2 separate regions of the Homo sapiens genome follow, and region 2 is linked to region 1. Evidence: promoter capture Hi-C in human tissues and cell types (Jung and others, 2019). All regions are on one chromosome and are shown on one strand. The core of a region is centred on a gene start or on the middle of the fragment in contact, and the rest is flanking DNA. Distances in the headings are between cores, read along the strand shown.

Region 1 (4,158 bases), core at 1,592-4,091:
GGTTTCACCGTGTTGGTCAGGCTGGTCTTGAACTCCTGACCGCAGGTAATCCACCCGCCTTGGCCTCTCAAAGTGCTGGGATCACAGACATGAGTCACCGCGCCTGGCCGAGTCCTACTCTTAGAAGGGCCATAGGCTCGGGGTTTAGTGCTCTGAGTTTCACAGTGTGAAAATTTCTTAGTAATTTTACCTTTGAATTTTTGTTTTGTCAATGAAATCTGACGGGAAAATGGAGGCTGCTGGGGGAAGGGGGTTGGTGCCTTAGCTGCTGCTGAGTCTCACCTCTTGTCACCCCCCACTACCCCCAATCCCCACCTTCACCCTACCCAACCCCCAACCCCATCTAGGGCAGGGCATGGCAATACCCCCGTACATTCAGAGTGAGACACGCGAGCATCCTGTCCACCACAGTCATGACACCAAGCACATCCTGGCACAGAGGGTGCAATCCCTCGAGGGCCACCCATCTGCTATGGGACGATAGCTAGGAAGGGGAGTGTTCCCGTACCCAAGGAAACACATTAAACAGTAAACAAAAACAGCATAACAGGTTGATAGAGACCACAGAGAAAAGGAAAGCTTTCTAATTTAGTACCTTTAGTGGCACTTTTCCCTGCTTCTTCCTGTTTTCATTTTGCACTAAGCCATGCAAATAATGCAGCCAGCCCTGCACCTGTGTAGCTACTGCCACAATCAGGATAGAGAGTATTTCCATCACTCAGGAATTTTCCTCTTAGCCCACCGCAGAGTCAATCCTCCCCCACCCATGGCACACCTCGACCACTGATCTACTTTCAAGACAGCTGAGTTTTAAAACTTGTAGCAGGAGGCCAGAGCAGTGGCTCACGCCTGTAATCCCAGTGGGAGGCCGAGGCAGGCGGATCACCTGAGGTCAGGAGTTCAAGACCAGCCTGGCCCCTGTCTCTACTAAAAATACAAAAATTAGCCGGGCGTGATAGCGCATGCTTTGTAATCCCAGCTACTTGGGAGGCTGAGGCAGGAGAATTGCTTGAACCCAAGGGGCAGAGGTTGCAGTGAGCAGTGATCGTGCCATTGCACTCCAGCCTGGGCAACAGAGCAAGACTCCATCTCAAAAAAAAAAAAAAAAGAAAAGAAAAGAAAAAGAAAAGAAAAGAAAAGAAAGAAAACAAAACAACCTTGTAGCAGGGCTCTGGATCTCTGATCTGGAGCTCAGGAAAAGCAGGGCTGGAACAGATTTGGGAGTGATCCCATAGGGGTAACCTTGGGAGAGCTGAGATAACCCAGAGAAGTGTAAGCGGCTGGGGTGGGCCAGCCCCATCCAGGGATGAAGACAGGCGCAAGAAGAGAAGAAAGTGCAGGTGGAGGGCAGGAGAATTTGCCATATCCAGGGCATATGGACTCATAAGAAAAACTCACAGACATATTAAAAGTAGCTGGAAGTTGGGTTTGCTCTGTTAATGAAGGATTAGGGAAAGCATATGTAAGAGAACCTAGAACATAAACAGTCCTCTTTGGAAGCCAGTTTGTCTTTCAAGAGAAAGCAAACAAAACACCACATCCTTGCAGAGCCTTCCAGGACCCTACTCCTGCTTCTTGGTCTAGCCTCCTCCCCCTGTCCCTAATTTTGGCATAATTGACTGCTCCTTGTCATCCAGATCTGTTTTAACGTCACCTCCTCAGAGAGGCCTTCCCCAGTCACCAATCTAAAAGAGCACCCAGTGGTCACATCAATTTAATGCAATATGCCATACTGTCCCTATCACTTTTAATGTCTGCCAGGCCCTCCATTTCAGCCACGACCACCTCCCCCAAATCACCCCTTAAAAGAACAAGGACTTTGCCTCATTCAGAGCTCAATTTCCAGGGCCTGGAAGAGTGTCAGGCACGTGGCAGATGCTCAATAACTGTTGAATAAAAAGGAATGATAGGCCGGGCAGTGGCTCACGTCTGTAATCCCAGCACTTTGGGAGGCTGAGGCGGGCAGATCACCTGAGGTCAGAAGTTCGAGACCAGCGTGACCAACATGGCGAAACCCCATCTCTACTAAAAATACAAAAATTAGCCGGGCATAGTGGTACGCATCTGTAATCCCAGCTACTCAAGAGGCTGAGGCAGGAGAATGGTTTAAACTTGGGAGGCGGAGGTTGCAGTGAACCGAGATGGCGCCACTGCACTCCAACCTGGGCGACAGAGAGAGACTCGGTCTCAAAAAAAAAAAAAAGGAATGACCAGTCATAAAAAAGAATGAGTCGTACCACCCGAAGTGTAGACTTCACCTGCAGGGAGGGAGGCTGGAACTGGCAAGGTTGGAGGCAAAACTGTACCTACTGTACCTTTCTCGCCCAATCCTACCTGCACATGAACTCCCTCCCCACCCCTTTAGTCTCTCGGGCCCTTACTCTCTTTATCCGGCTCTTTTGCAAACATTTCCCATGATATTCTCCCTTCACCGTCACAGTCCTTATGCTCGTTTCCCAAAAGAGCTTCTCCGATGATCTCTCCCAGGTTGGCCGAGTGAGCGGGCCTAGCCTGCGCTCTCACCCCAGTGCCACCCCAGTGGGAGCGCCGCCCGCGCCCGCCCCCTCGCCCCGCGCCCGCCCCCTCGCCCCGCGCCCGCCCCCTCGCCCCGCGCCCGCCGCTCCGGCAGCCCAAACCCAGACGCTAAAGCGCCGAACTGGGTTTCCGGGCGCTGGAGGCCGCGGTCGGCCTCGTACTAGGTGACGGCCCATCCCGCGCGCGCAAGCCCGGAACCCCGCTCCGCTCACCCTCCGCGCGCTGCCGCTTTGCCCTGGCAACGGTAACCACGGCGAGGCCCTGCCCCACGCCCGGTGATTGTGCGCGCGGCCCCGCCCCCGAGGCGCACGCCGGCCCAGCGCCCACAGCTGCGGCGGCCTAGGTGCCGCGTGGGGCAAGCAGGTGCCTCGCGTCCAGGCGGCTCCGCGGCTGGCTGCCTCCCGAGCCGGCCGCGCTCCTCCCAGCGAGGCGTGGCGGGGAGGCGTAGTGAGGCTGGGCCCGTGGCGGTTCCCTGAGGAGGGCCGAGAAGGGGCCGGGGGTGCTAGGGGAACGGGCGCTGGGGGCAGCGGCCCCGGTGGATGCTAAGGGCTTCGGGATCGGGAGAGTCCACCACGCCTGCCTGCTCGGCTGAGAATCGCCATGGTAATCCCCGTCTCCCTAAAGTACCCGGGGCCAGGGCGCGCGCCGTGGAGCCCCAGGCTGTCCCGGAGAGGCGCGGGCGCCGAGGTCACCGCCTCTCCCTGGGGTCGACCTCAACGCGTGGCGAAAAGATGGAGGGACAAGGGGTGCCCGGCGGTCCGCGCCTGCTGGGGGCGCAGCAGCCGCGGAGTCAGGCCAGCCGTCTTTCCAGGTTTTAGGTCGTGGTCCTGTTGAGCAGCCCCCACACCCAGACGGTTGATGTGGAAAATAAAGGGAGGGTGGCACCGTGGTGTGGCACGTCAGGGCGCCAGGCCATGCCCACAGTGACGGGTCCGAGCTGTTAGCTGCCGTAGCCACCCTGGGTGCCCGCGCGGGATTCTCCACTGCTCTGCAGACTCAGGAAGCAGAGAGTGAGCCTGGTACCACCACCTTGCTGTCAACAGCATTCCTGTTCTCAGCCCTCATCCAGTCACTTACGACCTCCTTCCAACCCTCGCTGCTCTTTCCAGAAGGGCTGTGACCTTCCAGCCCCTGCCCCAAGTCCTCAGGGAGGCATCATTGTCTGCTAAACTAAGTACTGCACGCTTGAGCTGGGCGCACAGAGCCCTTGCTAAAGGGGCCTCAACCTCGAGCTTTCTCTGCCATATCTTCTCTGCTAAACAACAACAAACAAAACGAACAAAAACCCTGCATCCCACACTAAACCCGCGTTCTTCTGGAAGCCCCTTGCGCCTTCCCTGTCTTGATCCGTTTTCTTTGAGGCTTGGATCAGAAGGACCCTGCCTCCTGCTTCCCCATCGCTCCTTCAGCGCCCACAGCCCTTTGCACCTCACCTCTGGTGCTTTGCCTGTTTTTCCTTGGAAAGCCTTATTCCTCATTAGACTCTAGTGTAGAAATCATTAAGTTTCTGTGTTCTTTCCAGTTTGTTTCGTGTAAAAGGATTAAGTAAAAATTTCTTGGTTTGAGAGTCATTCCATGAGCTATTAAAGGTAAAGAGCTATTACCTTTTTTTTTTTTTTTTTT
Region 2 (4,102 bases), core at 164-2,663, 140 kb before region 1:
TCTGGGTTTAAAGGAAGACAGAGGACAATAATTAGAGGTTGCTAGGAGCTAAGACTTTATCAGAGTTGACACTCTGACTTCAGTGGGCCTTATTTTCCCTGCATCTCATCACCCTGTGTCCTGACATCACTCAAGTCGCCTCAACTCCATAGCTCCTCTATGACCACAGCTTCCTTTACTTCTACCTCTGCTGTTCTTATTTCGCCTGCTCTCCACCCTCCCTGTGATCCCTTGATACGTCTGAATGCACCTGGTTCAACAGTCCCTGTTTTCACCTGCCTTTCTCTCCAGTCAAACCTCTGGCCATTCATTTGAATTCTGCCCTCTCTGGCATCTTACAGTACCTCTTCCATAGATATTACCTTCCTCTCCTCCATTCCAAATCCAAAGGACCATTCTCTTAAGTAATGAAGGCCTTACAGGGTGATGAACTGTGAACCCCAAACATCTGAGACAGGTCTCGGTTAATTTAGAAAGTATTTTGCCAAGGTTGGCCAGGCGTGCTGGCTCATGCCTGTAGTCCCAGCACTTTGGGAGGCTGAGGCAGGTGGATCACCTGAGGTCAGGAGTTTGAGACCAGCCTCAACATGGCGAAACCCTGTCTACTAAAAATACAAAGTTAGCCGGGCGTGGTGGTGCATGCCTGTAATCCCAGCTACTCGGGAGGCTGAGGCAGGAGAATTGCTTGAACCTGGGAGGCAGAGGTTGCGGTGAGCCGAGATCACGCCATTGCACTCCAGCCTGGGCAACAAGAGCAAAACTCTGTCTCAAAAAAAAAAAAAAAAGTTTATAGAAAGTTTATTTTGCCAAGATTGAGGATGTGCACTCATGACACAGCCTCAGGAGGTCCTGATGACATGTGCCCAAGGTGGTCAGAACACAGTTTGGTTTTATACATTTTAAGGGGACATGAGACATCAATCAACATATGTATGATGAACACTGGTTCAGTTTGGAAAGGCGAGACATCTGGAAGCAGGGAGGGGGCTTCCAGGTCATGGGTAGATAAGAGACAAATGGTTGCATTCTTTTGAGTTTTTGATTGGCCTCTTCAAAGTAGGCAATCAGATGTGCATTTATCTCAGTGAGCAGAGGGGTGATTTTGAATAGAATCGGAGGCAGGTTTGCCCTAAGCAGTTCCAGCTTGACTTTTCCCTTTGGCTTAGTGATTTTGGGGGCCCAAGATGTTTTCCTTTCACAGAGCCTATAATCATAATTATAATATTGTCACTGTTAGCTGTAGAGAAACTATCCTCTTCAATGGGAATTAACACTGTAAAGAGTCCTGGTCCTTAAAGGGACCAAAGCAGGCATATCTTGTTAGGCTTCCTTTGTGCCTGAAACCTGTGGTACTCTTATTGGATAATATACTCTAGGAATGAACTAAGCAGGTGAGATAGGCTAGCTTACCTTTTTTCTAGTTATGTCTTATTTCCAAAATTCTGAAGTGTGCAGCAAGGAGGGAGTTGGTATGGAGAGATAAAGCAGAAACAACTTCGGAGGTCCTTTAAGGTGATAGTGTACAGGGCTACTGCACTGGCATCCTGTTTCTTCCTGAAACCAGATCTGTGTGTAAAATCCAGCATTGGTTAGGGACTTTGAGGCAGCACTAGTCTTGGTTGGAAACCCTGGCTGTCCTCTAAACCTACACTGTGGTGGCTTCTGACTAGCCTCAGTGAAGTCACTTTGCAATCAGCACCTGTGTGTCTGTAGCTGCGGGCCCTGAGGCCTTCGTGTATGTAGCACAGGGAGCCAGCAGAGGGAGCTGTCGTCCCAGAACTTTCTTAGAGCTGCTAAGAAATTCTGATTTTGAAAAAGATCTTCCTAGGCTCCATCCGAACCTCCCATGCAATAAGACTCTAACTTGAGATATGCGAGAGTTTGGTGCCAGACCCCTGGTGTGAGCAGATGGGGAGCTTCTGCATAGCTGTTTAAACTTGAAAGCCCTAGGAGCTCTTGATTTCAAGGAAACGCCTGTTTACTGATCCAAATCAAGCAACTCTTGAGAAATGGGAGTGCCTTCCTGACCTCAGTCTTTATTGATCTTGGTATCCGCACCTCCAGTGACGTGTCCTGAAGGGTGGGAGAGAATTCACAAGTGCCTCACACACAGGGAAAGAAGGAAGTCCAACTATTGCTGCAGAAAGTCCCCACTGGGGAGGTGCGGGTAGAGTGTTTGGGTAGCATTAAAACAGTGAGTGCCCTGTGAGAAGCACAGTGCCTGGGTGCAGCACTTTGCATCAGCTCTGATTTTGAAATCAGACACAGAAGGCTTTGAAGCCGGCCAGTAAGGGGTTGTCAGGCAGTTGACTAATGCTCTTGATTTGAATCGGAGGCTGCTGTGAAAAGGGATGCAGCTTCTGCTAGCCACTGTGAACTTCTGAATCTCACTAGGGTTGGGTCTGCTTTGGGGCACTCAGATAACCCCAGTATTTCCAAACCAGCTTTCCCTTTTGCTTCAGGACATATCTTACCCAAGCCTGCACTATGGAGAAGTGGGACGGTAATGAGGGCACCTCAGCTTTTCACATGCCTGAGTGGATGGTGAGTTCACTGGTCGTTTTGTTTCTCCTTCTGTTTCTTGATAATGAGAGGCAACCATTTCTGACGGGTGACAAGGATCACCTCTGAGAAGCTCCTACCAAGATCCGTGGTTGGAAAAACAGTTATTACTCTACGTTCTGATTAGTTCCTAGGTACTAGGTCACCACTGTTTCTTAATTATCCACGAAGCTGGGAAAGGTGTGAGAGTTGCCTGGCCAGGGCTTGTTGCCTGGTCATCTCTGGTGGGCAGGGGCTTTCCTCCGGCTGCTGGTGTGATGTATGGGTTGTGTTTCCTGTGACTGTTTTGCACTTCTGTTTTCAACCTGATGCTTCATTTGTTTCTCTGGGGGTAAAGAAAAAGAACAATGAGGAGAAAAAACAAAAACAGAACTTACAGAAATGGTGCTCTCTGAAGTCTGCAAAGATTGCAAACATTTCTCCCCTCCCTGCCCGTATTTTTCCCTTCAGTCACAACATTTCCCTATTTCCCCCCCAGCTATCCTTTATATATATATTTCTCTATGGCAGGAACTGCAGCTCTCTTGGTACAGTTCTTCAGAATACCATGTTTGCCTGATCAGTAGTTTTACTAAAATGATAATAAGGACTTATTTGTTGATAAGAACTAGCATATAAACCTATTATATTGGATCGAATTTCAACTTTTAAAGACAATAACCATCCTTATGTTTCTAAATAGTTTCTTCTAGATTTAGCCTGATTTCTTACAGCCCACACAGGTTTATGTTTACAGATTTGTGTTTCCCCACTATGGAAAACTAGTTAGACTCTCTAAAACATATTTCAAGTTCTTTTTAGTGTTTATAGAATTATGGATTTGAAGAAATAACTATTGATAATGAGATAGAATATATAGTAGGCCTAACAAAGGCCCCCTGAGGAACTTACATTTCAACTCATTGTTACAACTATTTTTTATTGTTTTGGGGGAGGTTATTGCTGTTCTTCTTAATGTCGTTTCAGAACATTGTGTTCAGGTTTTTTTTTTTTTTTTTTTTGAAATGGAGTCTGGCTCTGTTGTCCAGGCTGGAGTGCAGTGGCGTGATCTCAGCTCACTGCAACCTCCGCTTCCTGGGTTCAAGTGATTCTCCTGTCTCAGCCTCCCAAGTAGCTGGGATTACAGGTGTGCACCACCATACCGGGTAATTTTTGTATTTTTGGTGGAGATGGGGTTTCACCATGTTGGCCAGGCTGGTCTTGAACTCCTGACCGTAGGTGATCCACCCAACTCGGCCTCCCACAGTGCTGGGATTACAGGTGTGAGCCACCACGCTCAGTCTTGTGTTCAATTTTAAAACATTTTGTGGAAAGAAAACCTATCCATCTACAAGCTTATTCCAAGTAACATAGTGTTTTAGAATTAATGGAAGGATTTATGTAATACTTCTGATTGGGTTGAGTTTTTTTGAATTTCTTGCTACTCACTAATAACAAGAAGAGGGAAAAAGAAATTTGGTTTTCTTAAGGGAAGGGCCACGTTAAGGTATCAAACTTTGGTATTTCTATAAAGGAATATTACAGAAGAATTCTACTGAAC

Evidence for each region. Contacts are between HindIII fragments. The study calls those that stand out against the background at their distance.
Region 2: a fragment that was not itself captured here is called in contact with the fragment with the promoter of SMKR1 in region 1 in 1 of the 25 tissues and cell types used here (bladder).

What each region holds. Positions count from the first base shown.
Region 1 is chr7:129,499,690-129,503,847 of GRCh38, forward strand. SMKR1 (small lysine rich protein 1) reads left to right here and starts at 2,842. Exons shown (of 2, transcript NM_001195243.2): 1 at 2,842-3,138. The coding sequence starts at 3,136. RefSeq lists silencers at 2,541-2,590, 2,651-2,990. The HindIII fragment of the contact is 29,122 bases long and covers 1-4,158 here.
Region 2 is chr7:129,366,008-129,370,109 of GRCh38, forward strand. All of the region lies in intron 1 of AHCYL2 (adenosylhomocysteinase like 2), which reads left to right. It overlaps LOC107986847 (a long non-coding RNA gene), which reads right to left. Exons shown (of 3, transcript XR_007060518.1): 3 at 2,017-2,887. Among named protein-coding and RNA genes, the nearest start is that of STRIP2, 66 kb to the right of the region's middle. The HindIII fragment of the contact is 5,247 bases long and covers 1-4,037 here.